Regions from separate parts of the Homo sapiens genome. Here all the other regions are linked to region 1. Evidence: promoter capture Hi-C in 16 types of primary human blood cells and fetal thymus (Javierre and others, 2016). All regions are on one chromosome and are shown on one strand. The core of a region is centred on a gene start or on the middle of the fragment in contact, and the rest is flanking DNA. Distances in the headings are between cores, read along the strand shown.

What was found. Contacts are between HindIII fragments. The CHiCAGO score rates a contact against its expected background, and 5 or more counts as called.
Region 2: a fragment that was not itself captured here is called in contact with the fragment with the promoter of DICER1 in region 1 in 1 of 17 cell types (naive B cells); the score reaches 5.4 in naive B cells.
Region 3: a contact is called between a fragment that was not itself captured here and the fragment with the promoter of DICER1 in region 1, in 1 of 17 cell types (naive B cells). The highest score is 5.6, in naive B cells.

What each region holds. Positions count from the first base shown.
Region 1 is chr14:95,155,272-95,159,531 of GRCh38, reverse strand. It overlaps DICER1 (dicer 1, ribonuclease III), which reads left to right and starts at 2,003. Exons shown (of 27, transcript NM_177438.3): 1 at 2,003-2,302. It overlaps DICER1-AS1 (DICER1 antisense RNA 1), which reads right to left and starts at 1,844. Exons shown (of 4, transcript NR_015415.1): 1 at 1,674-1,844; 2 at 1,298-1,339; 3 at 497-656. RefSeq lists enhancers at 1,533-1,602, 1,643-1,742 and silencers at 1,833-2,292, 2,353-2,712. The HindIII fragment of the contact is 7,422 bases long and covers 1-4,260 here.
Region 2 is chr14:95,393,272-95,397,531 of GRCh38, reverse strand. It overlaps LOC105370640 (a long non-coding RNA gene), which reads left to right. Exons shown (of 3, transcript XR_944174.3): 3 at 1,253-1,369. It overlaps LOC105370639 (a long non-coding RNA gene), which reads left to right and starts at 3,654. Exons shown (of 3, transcript XR_944173.3): 1 at 3,654-3,846. The HindIII fragment of the contact is 411 bases long and covers 1,797-2,207 here.
Region 3 is chr14:95,355,534-95,359,793 of GRCh38, reverse strand. The region is part of intron 2 of LOC107984710 (a long non-coding RNA gene); the gene reads right to left. Among named protein-coding and RNA genes, the nearest start is that of LINC02292, 28 kb to the right of the region's middle. The HindIII fragment of the contact is 2,033 bases long and covers 1,332-3,364 here.

The sequences.
Region 1 (4,260 bases), core at 754-3,253:
CAGATTGCAAGAGGGCAACCAGAGGGGCTGAAGTTGTACCAGCCCACAAATTTCCACTGCCAATAGAGTCCAGTGCCTACCCCCATACTGAGATGCTGTCCTTCTCATAAAGGCTTATCAGGGAGTCCACCGAAGAGATATCTACATTTGGGGATAAGTTAAGACGATGTTCTTTAAGCCAGACACTTATTTAACGCCCACCGATATTTTAATTCCTAGCTACAAAGAAAACCTTATATGTATGACTGGGGTCTTAAAGGTATGACATGCTCACCGTGCTTGACATATAAGAAACTACTTTTTTAAATACATGGGTCTGCCAGGAGCATCCTACTTCCTAATTTTGCCCATAAATATGCTACTTTCAAGTGAAACCTTAAGCCAATTCATAGTAAATATATTATCAAAATTTTAGCACAGTAATGACTGAGCACACCAGCCTCAAAGCCAGACTACGTGGGTTCAAATCTCAGTTGTTCACTTACTGGCTACTTACTTGTTGGAAGTTATTCCATTTCTTCGTCTGTTAAAACAGGAAGCAGGCTGGGTACGGTGGCTCACGCCCGTAATCCCAGCACTTTGGGAGGCCAAGGCGGACGGATGACAAGGTCAGAAATCGAGACCATCATGGCCAACATGGTGAAACCCCGTCTCTTCTAAAAATACAAAAATTAGCTGGGTGTGGTGGCGTGCCCCTGTAATCCCAGCTACTCGGGAGGCTGAGGCAGGAGAATCACTTGAACCTGGGAGGCGGAGATTGCAGTAAGCCCAGGTCGCACCACTGCACTCCAGCCTGGAGACAGAGTGAGACTCCGTCTCAAAAGAAAAAAAAAAAAAAAACAGGAAGCAGTTTCAGCACCTACCTCACAATGTGCACACAGTTAAAGCACCTACCTCACAGGGTGCACACAGTTAAAGCACCTACCTCACAGGGTGCACCTAAGGATCACAGGCATGCAAGCCCTAGATCAGCCTGCCCAATGGCAATATAATGCAGGCCACAGGTGACATTTAAAATTCTGTAGAACCCACACTAAAAAATAAACAAATAAAACTTTTATCCCAATATATGGAAAAAGTTTATCACTTCAACATGTAACAATTTTTTGAACATTATTTGGTAAAGAATGCATATATCTCGATTCCGACTAGCCATACTTTAAGTGCTCAGGAGCCATGTGGGGCTGGTGGCCCCAAACTGAACAGCACAGCCCAGGCAGCAGGGGCGCATAGTAGGTTCTGCTCACGCCCATGGTCTGAAAGAAACACGGTTGCAGTTGCTGTGAGCACACCTCACCTGGAGCAAACCGGCCTATCAGGGGGTCCACTGAAGAGATGTCTACATTTGGGGATAAATTAAGAAGATGTTCTTTAAGCCAGCCACTTATTTAATTCCCACCGATATTTTAATTCCTAGCTTCAAGCTGTGGTGCGCGGTTCCGACCTATGCAAATGAACAGCTTACAAACAGAGGGCCACCATCTATTTCTCATTATCTGGGGATCCCGGTTGGGGTGGGGGGCGGAAGTGGGTGTTTGTTATTTCCCCAAATGCGGAGGCCCCTGCACCACTAACGCGAGGAAACGCAGGCGAGTGGGAAGGTACTTTAAAAAGGGGAGGGAGGTGCTCAGAGGGAAGCTAAGCTCTCCGGGAAACAATTACGGCCACGTTACGGTCTGTGGGTGCCAGAAGGAGCAACAATGGAGGCAGTCGAATTCCGAGAGCTCAGAGAGTCTGCCAAACTTAGCCGGCCTCGGCGCGCGGGTTCCCGGGGGCCCCAAAAACTCCGGGCAACTGCGGCCCAACGCCAAGGTCCAGTCCAGGCGCTGGGCCGCAAACGCCTCTCCGGCCTCCGCGCGCGCGCCCGCTGTCTCCCTGCTCCTGAGTGGCTGGGGGGCCGGGATTAACCTTTCACCGCCAGGCCCTGTCCAATCACAGGCTCGCTCTCATGCCGCCACGGGGCGAGCGGAGCGTGGGGGCGCGGAGGGGCGGTGCGGGAGCCAGTGGGATTCTCCAAGCGGCTGTGCGCCGTTGCCGCGGGCCGTGCGCTGGCTGCCGGCCAGCCGGGCGCTGCGCAGTCTCCGCAGGCGCCGGCGGGAGGGGTCGAGGCGGAGGCGCGGCGCAGGCTGCTGCAGGCCCAGGTGAATGGAGTAACCTGACAGCGGGGACGAGGCGACGGCGAGCGCGAGGAAATGGCGGCGGGGGCGGCGGCGCCGGGCGGCTCCGGGAGGCCTGGGCTGTGACGCGCGCGCCGGAGCGGGGTCCGATGGTTCTCGAAGGCCCGCGGCGCCCCGTGCTGCAGGTGAGGCGGGCTCCCGCGGAGCAGCTTTGTGTCCGGGGCGGGGAGCGGGTCGCCTGGCCGCGCTCCCGCCTCCGCGCGGAGGCCCGCGTGCCGGCCATGGCCCCGAGCCGCGCGTCCGGGCCTGGCGGGCGCTGACGAAGGGCGCGGCCTCGCCTGCCTCGTCGTCCCGCACAGCGCGGCCTGTGGACCCGGCGTCTGCCCGCCTCGGCTCTGCTCCTGGGCCCGGACCCCGGCGCCTCCCCGCGAGGCAGCCCTGGGAGACTTTCCGGGCCGCCGTGGCGTGGTGGGGGATGCCGGCGCCTGTCCACTCCCCGGCCTGGCGAGGCCTGGGGCTCTTGACAGGTCCCGTCACGCGCGCTAAGGTGGCGCGGGAGCAGCGGAGGTGGAGACGCGCGCCTGACCTGCCGGAGCACCCTGGGGCCCTCCTCTGATGGGGCCGCTGTGCCGCGCCCGGAGGGGACGAAGCTGGGCTCTCGGTCCCTCCCGGGAGGGTCCTGTGTGATTACTGTCAGGGGACCAGATTGGGGCCCTGGGGGGCGGGCAGGGGCCGAGGCCATTCTTTTGCCTCTCCCCTCAGATGTTTTTGTGCCAAAATGCCTAGACCCTGCGGAGGACCCTTTCTTCAGGGTTTTTGATTTTGGGGAAATCAGTGTATGTTTTAAGTTAGCACATCAGATTTCTGTAGATTGTCCAGAAAAGCTGAGTTGCCCTGATGGCTCTGCCTGGAGGTCAGAGCCAGCAAACCACTGAGTGTGTCCTTAGGAACCTGAAGATCCGCGGAAACGTGGAGATGAGTTGGAGGGTCCTATTTGTGTAGTGTTAACTCCGTGCTTTTGTGGAGAGAGTTGTGGTTAAAGGGACACGTTACTGGTCTACACGATAAGTAAGTGTTCTTAGGACTTTCAGGTTTTAAAAACATTCATCTGATGAAAGAGGATCACTTGGACGCCTATGCTTCTGTCTTCGAATATTCTGAATCTTTACAATCCTGATTGTCAGGTGTCTTCGTGGTGCTTGTTTTCAAACAGTGGAAAAGGACTCAGGTTAGGATTTAAGCAACTCGGAAAATATTGTTAAAAATGTGCTGTTAAAACAGGTTAGCTATATTGAATATGTATTGGTGTAAACGTTAAGTTTTCTAAATAAAAATATACATCCTCACCAAAAAACTCAGTTTATTAAAAGATGGGTTCGGGATAAGCCAGGTCCTAGAGAATAGTAATTTTCAATATTATTGATATCTTTGGAAATTAGGTTCTGGAATAGCCAGTTTATTTTGCAAAGTCTACTTTAAAGCTACCTGTGGCACGTGTGTATTATATGTAATATGTGCTGTGTACATGCACATACATACACAATTATTTCAAAACTTCATTTTAGGGCATATTCCATAAAACTCAATAGATAAAAAAACAAAAAACTAAAGATTGCTTTTAACATGGTCACTATAAACATTGATCATGGTAACATAGGTTTATAGATTTACTCACGGCACCAAAATGCTGTTTTAAGAAGAGAACAGTTAGTCCATTTTAATTTGGGGAGAAAAGACATTTTCCTACAATCCTTTTTAGTAAGGGCCTGCTTTACTTTTTATGCTTCCATCTCATGTTTGAAGGGTAAGCCCTGACTGCTCTGCTGTATTTTGCCCGTGGCTCAATGTGTGAGTTGGGTAGCTAGGTTGTTTTGCTATTATTGAGCTTTATTGTCTTGGTTTTAGAAGACATTGTCTTTTGATGTGGCTCATGATTCTTATTTGACAGTGATTTTGTCATATAGTGGGTTGTACAGTACTTGTAGTGCTATCTTCTAGAGAGGGTGACTTTTATGGCGTTGGGATGTTTTATTCTCTACCACTATCTGACATGTGAGGTGCTTGTTTCATTTGAGAAAGTAGATATTTCGTAGACAGTCTCTCACTTGCGACCCTACCATGTCATGGTCACGTTTCCACTTGC
Region 2 (4,260 bases), core at 753-3,252, 240 kb before region 1:
AGCAGAGCTCTGGGGGTACATCCCTGGGGGATCCCTCCTCGACTCTGGTCTGATTAAGTCAGCTCTGCAGAAACCAGAAAATTAAATTTGGGGCCATGTCTGTCTTCCGGATATGGTGCATAATTTCAGGATTACTCTGGGTAAAGAAAAGAGAAAGGGCTCTTTTCTTTTTTTAGGGTTTGGAAAGGAAAACATGGTTGTGTGGGCTAACGTGTATTGCTGGGCGAGGTCTTCAGGGGTATGGTTCGGAGCCATGAGGGAGGCGTCTGTGCAAGCAGCAAGCCTTCCTTTTTGGGGCCAGGTAGGGGGTCGGTAATGCAGAGGTTATAAAGAAAGAGATTGCATTTGATTAATGAAATATTTTCTTACAATCATGTTTTTGCTGAAATGCATGTTCAACCCTGACCAAAGGCCAGGGAAGCCAAATGCAAAACATACAGTGTGCGGTTGCCAGAATATCTCCCAAGCTACATTTTAATATATGTCAAAATTCAAATTTACCCTGGAGTCAAGGAAGTCAGAGAGGGAGACCTTTGCCTTATGGGTACTGCATACCATGCCTAATAAAATGATAATGCAACCTTCACAGTTTGCTAGGCACTTCCACCCACAGTCTTTCATTTGATTCTTACAATAATGTCAAATGCTTTTTCGTCTCTTCCACTGAAGAGTAAAACAAGGCTGAGAGAGGTAGAAAGGTGACCCCAAGATCATAGCCTGAAAATGGCCTTGCTGCCGTCCAGCCCTGCCCTCCAGTGATCTCTTGTTCCAAACCTGCAACACAGCAACGAAGCAAACCCACTGTTTATGTCTCCTCATTTGCAATCCCAAAACTATCAAGAGCAGATGAGAGCAAGCCCTTAAGGTTAATAGAGCAGAGTTAGGGAACCCTGAGCAAAATCTCTTATCCCTGAGGTACCTGATTGGTTATCTGAATGGCTGCCAACACAGAGCACTGTGTTAAGAGGGATTCTGAGGCTGTGATCAAGGAAAGAACTGCATGATCTCTTGGTGATATCTCCCATGACCGTCGTAGGGAGGGGCTTATTGTCATCTTCACTTTGGCCTCAGTTTCATTATCTATAAAGGGGAAGGAATTGCTCTCAATCTGGGTCTGTGAACTAACATGCCTACAGAACCCAAACAGGAAACATCTGAGCAGACCAGATGTATTAGTTTGTTCTCGCACTGCTATAAAGAACTACCTGAGACTGGGTAATTTATAAAGAAGAGAGGTTTAATTCTCTCACAGGTTCTACAAGCTCTACAGGAAGCGTGGATTGGGAGGCCTCAGGAAACTTACAATCATGGCAGAAGGTGAGGAAGAAGCAGGCACGACTTACGTAGCTGAAGCAGGAGGAAGACAGCGAGCCTCTGCTACACACTTTTAAACAAGCAGCTCTCATGAGAACTCACTATCACAAGAACAGCAAGGGTGAAGTTTGCCCCCATGATCCAGTCACCTCCCACCAGGCCCCTCCTCCAACATTGGGGATTACAATTCGACATGAGATTTGGGCAGGGAAACAAATCCAAACCACATCCCCAGACCAAGTGTAAAAACATCCTGAAAGAGGGAAGGTTGGGATCTTTGTCCAATCATTGCCATGTGGGGATGTGGGCTTTGGATTAGAGTGACAGTTTCTCAATCATTCAAGATTTCACATTATAATGTTAAAAAAATTTTTTAGGTGGCAACTAATTTGAATATTGTTAAAAAATACCTGTGCTAACATGCGTGTGTACGCATGTGCTGTCAGGCTGGGTGTGGCCCACGGACCATTGCTTTTCAAGCTTTGGTTTAAATAGTCCCCAAGATTCCTTTCATTTCAAAAATTCTAAAATTCTGTGTGGGATGCAGGTCCACAGACTAGGTGCATGTGAAATGTTTCTCAATAGATCTAGAGTTCTAAACTCAGTCCCTCACCCACGTGGGCCGAGATTAGTTTGAGCACCTGCTGTGTGCCTATTGGGCTTCTACAGACATTGTCTCACTCAGGCTTCATGACTAGTCCAGCTGGCTCTTCTCCCTTATTTTGCAGCTGAAGACACAGGCTCAGAGAGATGACTAATTTATCCAAGGTTGCCCAGCACATAACCAAACTGAAATTTACTCCTTGGTGATTTCTCAAGATTTTGGTTTCATGATGGAAATCCCATGACATAATCAGCACTCGGTGGAAACTCAATGATAAATGGGTAAAGCTTGGGAGGGCTTCACCCCAATATTGTATCTAGATCCACTGTGGAATTTCCAGCATTCCCAAGGATTGTAACTTGATCGTCTTCAATGAAGAACCCAGCAGGCATTATCAGGCTGGGCCGGTACTGGCAGCCCCTGGGTGAGCAATTTCTGGCAGGCATCCAGCCCATAAAGTGTTCTAAAAGGTCGCTTGGTTTTGGCTGTTGGTAGAAAGTGGGAGAGATGGAGAGGCCCCGAAAGCTGGGGTCTTTCCCATCTGTTCCACATTACAATGCTGTTAAATATGTTATGATGTCCATTGTACCAACAAATACAAGCAGAACTAATCTCTTTGTTTAAGGTTCCTTGACTGACATCATTGGTAATTAGATGACATACTTATTTTCTCATGACAAGAGTGGACTGGTTCAGTGAGAGGTTTGGAAAGAGTACAGGCTCTCACCCACGAAGTTTAGTGGGAAGTATCTTGATGCTGATGGATGTGAAAAACGACAGCTCCAGGGATGGGGATGGAAAAGAGAAATGCTTTGCCATTGTCTCAGCCACAGAGATGAAATCTAGAGGAGACTAAAGACTTTCTGAGTGTCTATTCATTCATTCATCCATCCATCCATCCATCCATCCATCCATCCATCCATCCATCCAATTATCCATCTATCCATCCATCCATCCATCCATCCATCCATCCATCCATCCATCCATCCTTACATATATCCATACATCAAGCCAGCCATCCATTCACCCATCCATCTATCCAACCATCCATCCATCTTTCCATCCATTCATCCATCATCCATCCATATATTCAACCATCTATTCATCCATCCATCCATCCTCTGTTCATCTCTCCAACCATCCATCCATCCATCCATACATACATACATACCTTCAACCCTCCATTCACTCATCCATCCATACATCCACACATCCATACATCCATTCATCCTTCCATTCATCCATCCATCATCCAGCCATCCATTCATCCAACTATCCATCCATCCTTCCATCCATCCATGCATCCATCCATCCTTCCATTTGTCCATCTTTCCATCTACCCTTCCATACATGCATCCATATCCCCATCCATTTTTTTATCCTCATTGCTGGAAGGGAGCCACAAGCTGAGGGATGCACACGGTTTCTCGAGGCTGCATAAGGCAAGGAACAGATTTTCCTCTAGATCGTCCAGAAGGAACATAGGCCTACTGACTTGATTTTTAGTACCATTTTAGGACTTCTGAGCTCTGTAAGTGTAAGAGAATAAATTTGTGCTATTTTCAGACACCAGGTATGTGGTAGTTTGTTACAGCAGCAATAGGAAACTCATACACAAACTCATGGGGTCACCAGAAGCATTAAATTAGCTAATATATAAAAATGCAGTTAGCACCATGCCTGGAGCATAATAAATGCTCAAAAAAGTAGTACTGACTCTTATTTTTGTGGGTGCTCTTATGATATATTTTGGGGATGTGGCCTTGCCCTCTGAGGAGCCCTCAGTCTATTGTGACACAAGAGAAGTAAATTTCTGGGGGTTGGATAAAGGGGAAAGCAAAGAGAAGCCCTCAAAGTGAGGAGGGCTGTGGTTTTGCTGCCTGAAACTCATTCACCATGCGAGCACTGGGGCTCCAGAGGGATAAGGGGTGAGTTAACACCTGATCCTAACGTCAGGGTGATGTCGCAGCAGCATAGCCAGATCCAAAGCAGACTGCAGGCCTGATGGAGAGGGGGCTGTTCACATCTAGCTGGGGGCCTGATTCTTAGCACATCATCCCCCAGGCTTCTGGGCAGCTTGTAATGTTCTTCCTCATGCATTGACATGTTTAAACCTTGTTTACTCCTCATAATAATCCTCTCTTGTTTTCTAAGCACTATTTTTGTTTCAAAGTGATAATAGCTAAATTTGTTTCTGATTGAAAGTGTAATGCACGCTCATCGAAGCAAATTTGGTAGACAAAGACAGTGAACTTTGATATTTTCTACAACAATACTTATGATTAGTCCCAAATCTTCACACTCCCCCTACCAGCTCCCTGTGGCATGTGCTTAATCAGGGG
Region 3 (4,260 bases), core at 1,099-3,598, 200 kb before region 1:
AGGCAACATAGCAAGACTCCATCTCTACAAAAAATAAAAAAAACTAATTCGCCAGGTGTCGTGGTGCGTGCCTATAGTCCCAGCTACTCCAGAGGCTGAGGTGAGAGGATCGCTTGAGTCTGGGAGGTCAAGGCTGCAGTGAGCCATGACGGTGCCACTGCACTCCAGCCTGGGCCACAGAGCAAGACTCTCTCTAAAATAAGTAAATAAAAGTGTGGCCAGGTGCTGCGGGATCAGAGAAGTAAGGTCTGCTACTTTTCCGGGCAGTCAACATCTGAAAGAAACCTGAATTTACCCTACCTGAACTACGTGTTTTTAAACTGAAAGAAATCAAGTAATACAAGAATAACGAGAGGTTCAATTGAGTTTTCAAAGGTCCGGAAGGTGTCCTGAGCAAAATGCCAGGTTGGTCGTTAATCATGCATTCATTCATCCATCATTCTTTCATTCAACCAACACTTATGGATGAAGCACCCACTCTAAGCTAGAATCTGTGGGGATTTACCCACACCCAGGTCCTTCTAGTTTCTTTAACAATGAAAAAGCAACTCTTAAAAAGCCCACTCAGGGGCCGGGTGCGGTGGCTTACACCTGTCATCCCAGCACTCTGGGAGACCGAGGTGGGCAGATCACTCGAGGCCAGGAGTTCAAGACCAGTCTGGCCAATATGGCAGAACCCTGTCTCTACTAAAAAAAATTAGCCAGGTATGGTGGCGCATGACTGTAATCCCAGCTACTTGGGAGGCTAAGGCACAAGTATCGCTTGAACCTGGGAGGTGGAGGTTTCAGTGAACCAAGATCATGCTACTGCACTCCAGCATGGGTGACAGAGCGAGACTGTCCCAAAAAAAAAAAAAAAAAAAAAAAAAAAAGGAAAGGAGAAAAAGAAAAAAAGCCCACTCAGGGATTGGGGCCTGCAGAAGATCTGGACTCAAATTTTATAGCAAGTGGCTTAAATAAGAAATGGAATTTGAGCTAATTTCCTCACTTACAAGGCTGCCTGCCTGCCTTACAGGGATTTGGGGAGAGTAATGTATAGAAAGTGCCTTCCTCAATGGAGCCGGCATCACCATAATCTGCTATGTGTGCCCTGGTCTTTACAGTTAACAAATCTCCTTCACTTGCAAAATTTCATTTTGTTTTCACCATAATCCCAGGAGTTCAGCAGGACTGCTATGTTTAATAGTCACCTTTACAGAGCAGGAAATTGAGGGTCAGAGAGATGAAGCAACTTACCAAGTTCACACAGCAACTCAGCGTTAGAACTGAGACGAAAACACAGAGTTTGAATCTAAAGCTTTGAGGGTTGGTCTGATTCTGTTGACAAAGCTTCATGACAATGCCAGAAGACTCTGGGGACTGGTATTTCCAAAGTAATTAGTCACATCTAACATAGGAGAGACTTAGGATCAAGCACCAAAGATCTGCCACCTATTTTGGGCATGTGAGTAGCCCAAGGAATGTTCTAGAAGGAATACCTGGTGAGAGAAATCATGTTTCCCAAAGATGGCCACAACAGTAGCTCCCATCCCACATGCTGTACCTGTAGTAGGACTGTCTCATTCTCTCATTAGGATGTGGGGTCTAATTTGCCTCCCCTGGAATCTGGGCTGGCCTTACAGACTTGCTTGACAAATATAAAGTGGTCATTAGTGGTATTCTGGGACTTCTAGGGCTAGGTCATAAGAAGCCTTGCAGTGTCCACTGGGGTCTCTGGGGTTGATCTTGGAGCACTCTGTGTTGTAAAATTCTTTACACAGAGAGGCCATATATGGATGTTCCCAGGGACAGCCTTAGCCATGCTCCCAGTTGACGACCAGCAGGTCATCATGCTGTGTGAGCCATCTTGGACGTCCTGCAACGTCAAGCCCTCAGATAATTCCAACCCCAGCTGAATCCAACTACAAACAGCATAAGAGAACCTACGCAAGAACTGGCTGAGTCCAGTCAAATCCCAGAACCACAGGAGACAATAATGCATCCATATTTTAAGCCATACAGCTGTGGATGGTATATTATAAAGCAATGAATAACTGGAATACCTGGAGTGGTTTACAGGGCTCTTCATTTAAAGAGAAACTGAGGCTAAGAAATTAATCAAGGCCCTTCCTCTGGGCTCTCAGAACGCTCAGTGTAATTGCTATAAGGGTATCTGAGCCCAAATCATTGGTTTACTTGTCTGTCCTACGAGACTGTGAGCTCTTGGGGGATAGAGAATATATTAGGGCTCTGGAGTTGCTAGTAACGGAAATAAAACTGGCTTACTTAAGCAAAGCAAAATTGATTGGGAGGATTTGGGAGAGCTCAAAGAATTAGAATAAAAACCAGACTGGGTTCAGAGAACAGCAGTGATCCAGGGCAGGGGCACATGGAGAGTCTCTGGGGGTGCCAGGGCTATACATGAAGAGTAATCCTTTGTCCCTGTCATGTTATGCTGCTCAAGATTCCAATTCCAGGGGGAATACTCTTGACTGGCCTGCACTGGGCCACAGAAGGGCAGGCCCCACTTGGATGTGGGCCCCACTCAGGCTCTGTCCATTGGATGGGCTGTCCCCTAAACAAATTCAGGATGTTGATGCCAGAAGAATGGGGAGTGGGTATTGAAGAGGCAAAGTTGGGCCATCACATTTGCCCCAGCAACCCCAGTACCCAGCTCAGTGTCTGGCACATAATAGGTGCTCAAGAAATATTATTTTGATGTGTGAACAAATAAACAATCTAATGAATAAATGTGCATGAATGAATGAAGCAACACATGAACAAGTGCATAGTTAGACAATGCGTGGGCCATGTGCAGGCCTTTGAAGACACCTGCTAGATATTACAGCACTTTAACTCCCCTCCACCAAGCCAGGCATTTTTTTCTCAAGAGAGTTTCTGATACCTGGATTCTAGAATGTATACAATTTTAATCCCCTAATCCTGTCAGTTTAAGAACATTATACACTTTGAACAGGGCCTGTGATAATTCCTGAAAACACCCCAGGAGCGGTGACTCCCTAGCCCTGCTTGATTTTAAATTCAGTTTTCAGGGGAGGGCTGGTGGAGGAGATAGATGTGAGGGAGGCTTGTCTCTGAGGCAAGAGCTGGGAGGTCTGGCATTTCCTTTTATGGGTCCACAGCTGTTCAGCAGAAGGCAGCTGGACGAGGCTTGGTCTGGTGGCCGCCACACTACACCCAAGGCAGGTAGATGCGTCATCTGCACATCTGCCCAAAACCTGCACGTAAAGGACGACAGACCATGTTGTCTCACGCCTTACACAGACTCACTAAGGGTAAAAGGTCAGACTTCACCAACTCCTGAAAACGTCGCCACTTCTATTTTTGGTACACTTTCAAGGCACTCATCCTAGGTGGATAAGCTTTGGGGAGACAGGCCAGAACGAGGTCCCGGGTCAGGAGCCCAGCTGGTTGGGCCCAGTTGCCGGTGTGAGGCCTTCCAATTTGTTCTGAGACCCCCATCCCATGAACCAAATCCAAATAAAGTGACATTCCCAGCCTGCTGGTCCTGTCCTGGTGACTGGGGAGAGAATGGGTTCTCGCTCCGGCCAGGACTATAGAATTTAATGTTAATGATGGCCAATAGTGCCCCCTGGGATGGGCAATGGACTTTATTGGCCCCAGACATAGTCATTCTGGTGGGGGACTCAGGACCAGAGCTGATTCAGCCTAACGGTGGCAGAGGGGGGTGGCCAAGGAACTGGAAAGTAGTGAATAGAATCTTTGATGCCTTTACAATTTGTTAGCACACGCACAAAGAAAACTTAAAAAGCAAATTGGCTCAAATATATATTAATACCTCGACACACCCTGATTTACTCATCTGGAGGTAACTTACCAGTCAACAGATATTCTCCAGGACAGGAGGGAAAGGGTTAAGGAAGGAAAGGTCATTTGTGCTGAGCACCAGGGGGTGCCAGGGGTGATGTTAGGAACTTTCAATATATTATGTCCTTTAGGCCCTACAGCAGTCTGGAGATTCAATGCAACCTCATTTCACAGGTAAGGAAACTGAGTCCACAGAGGTGAGGTACATTGCCCAAGGTCATGATACTCCTAAGTGGCAAACCTAGGATTTGAACCTCGGTCAAGTCAGACTCTGTGGCCCATCTCCATTTCATTACATCATACCATCTCCTGGGAAGTAAACAAAAGAGGTGTTTGAATGGAAACGCACAGACCTCATTCACCAGAGAGTCTGCCAGAGCCACTGATTCTGGCTGTTATACAATTCTCACAAGTATGATTATTCGATCTCCT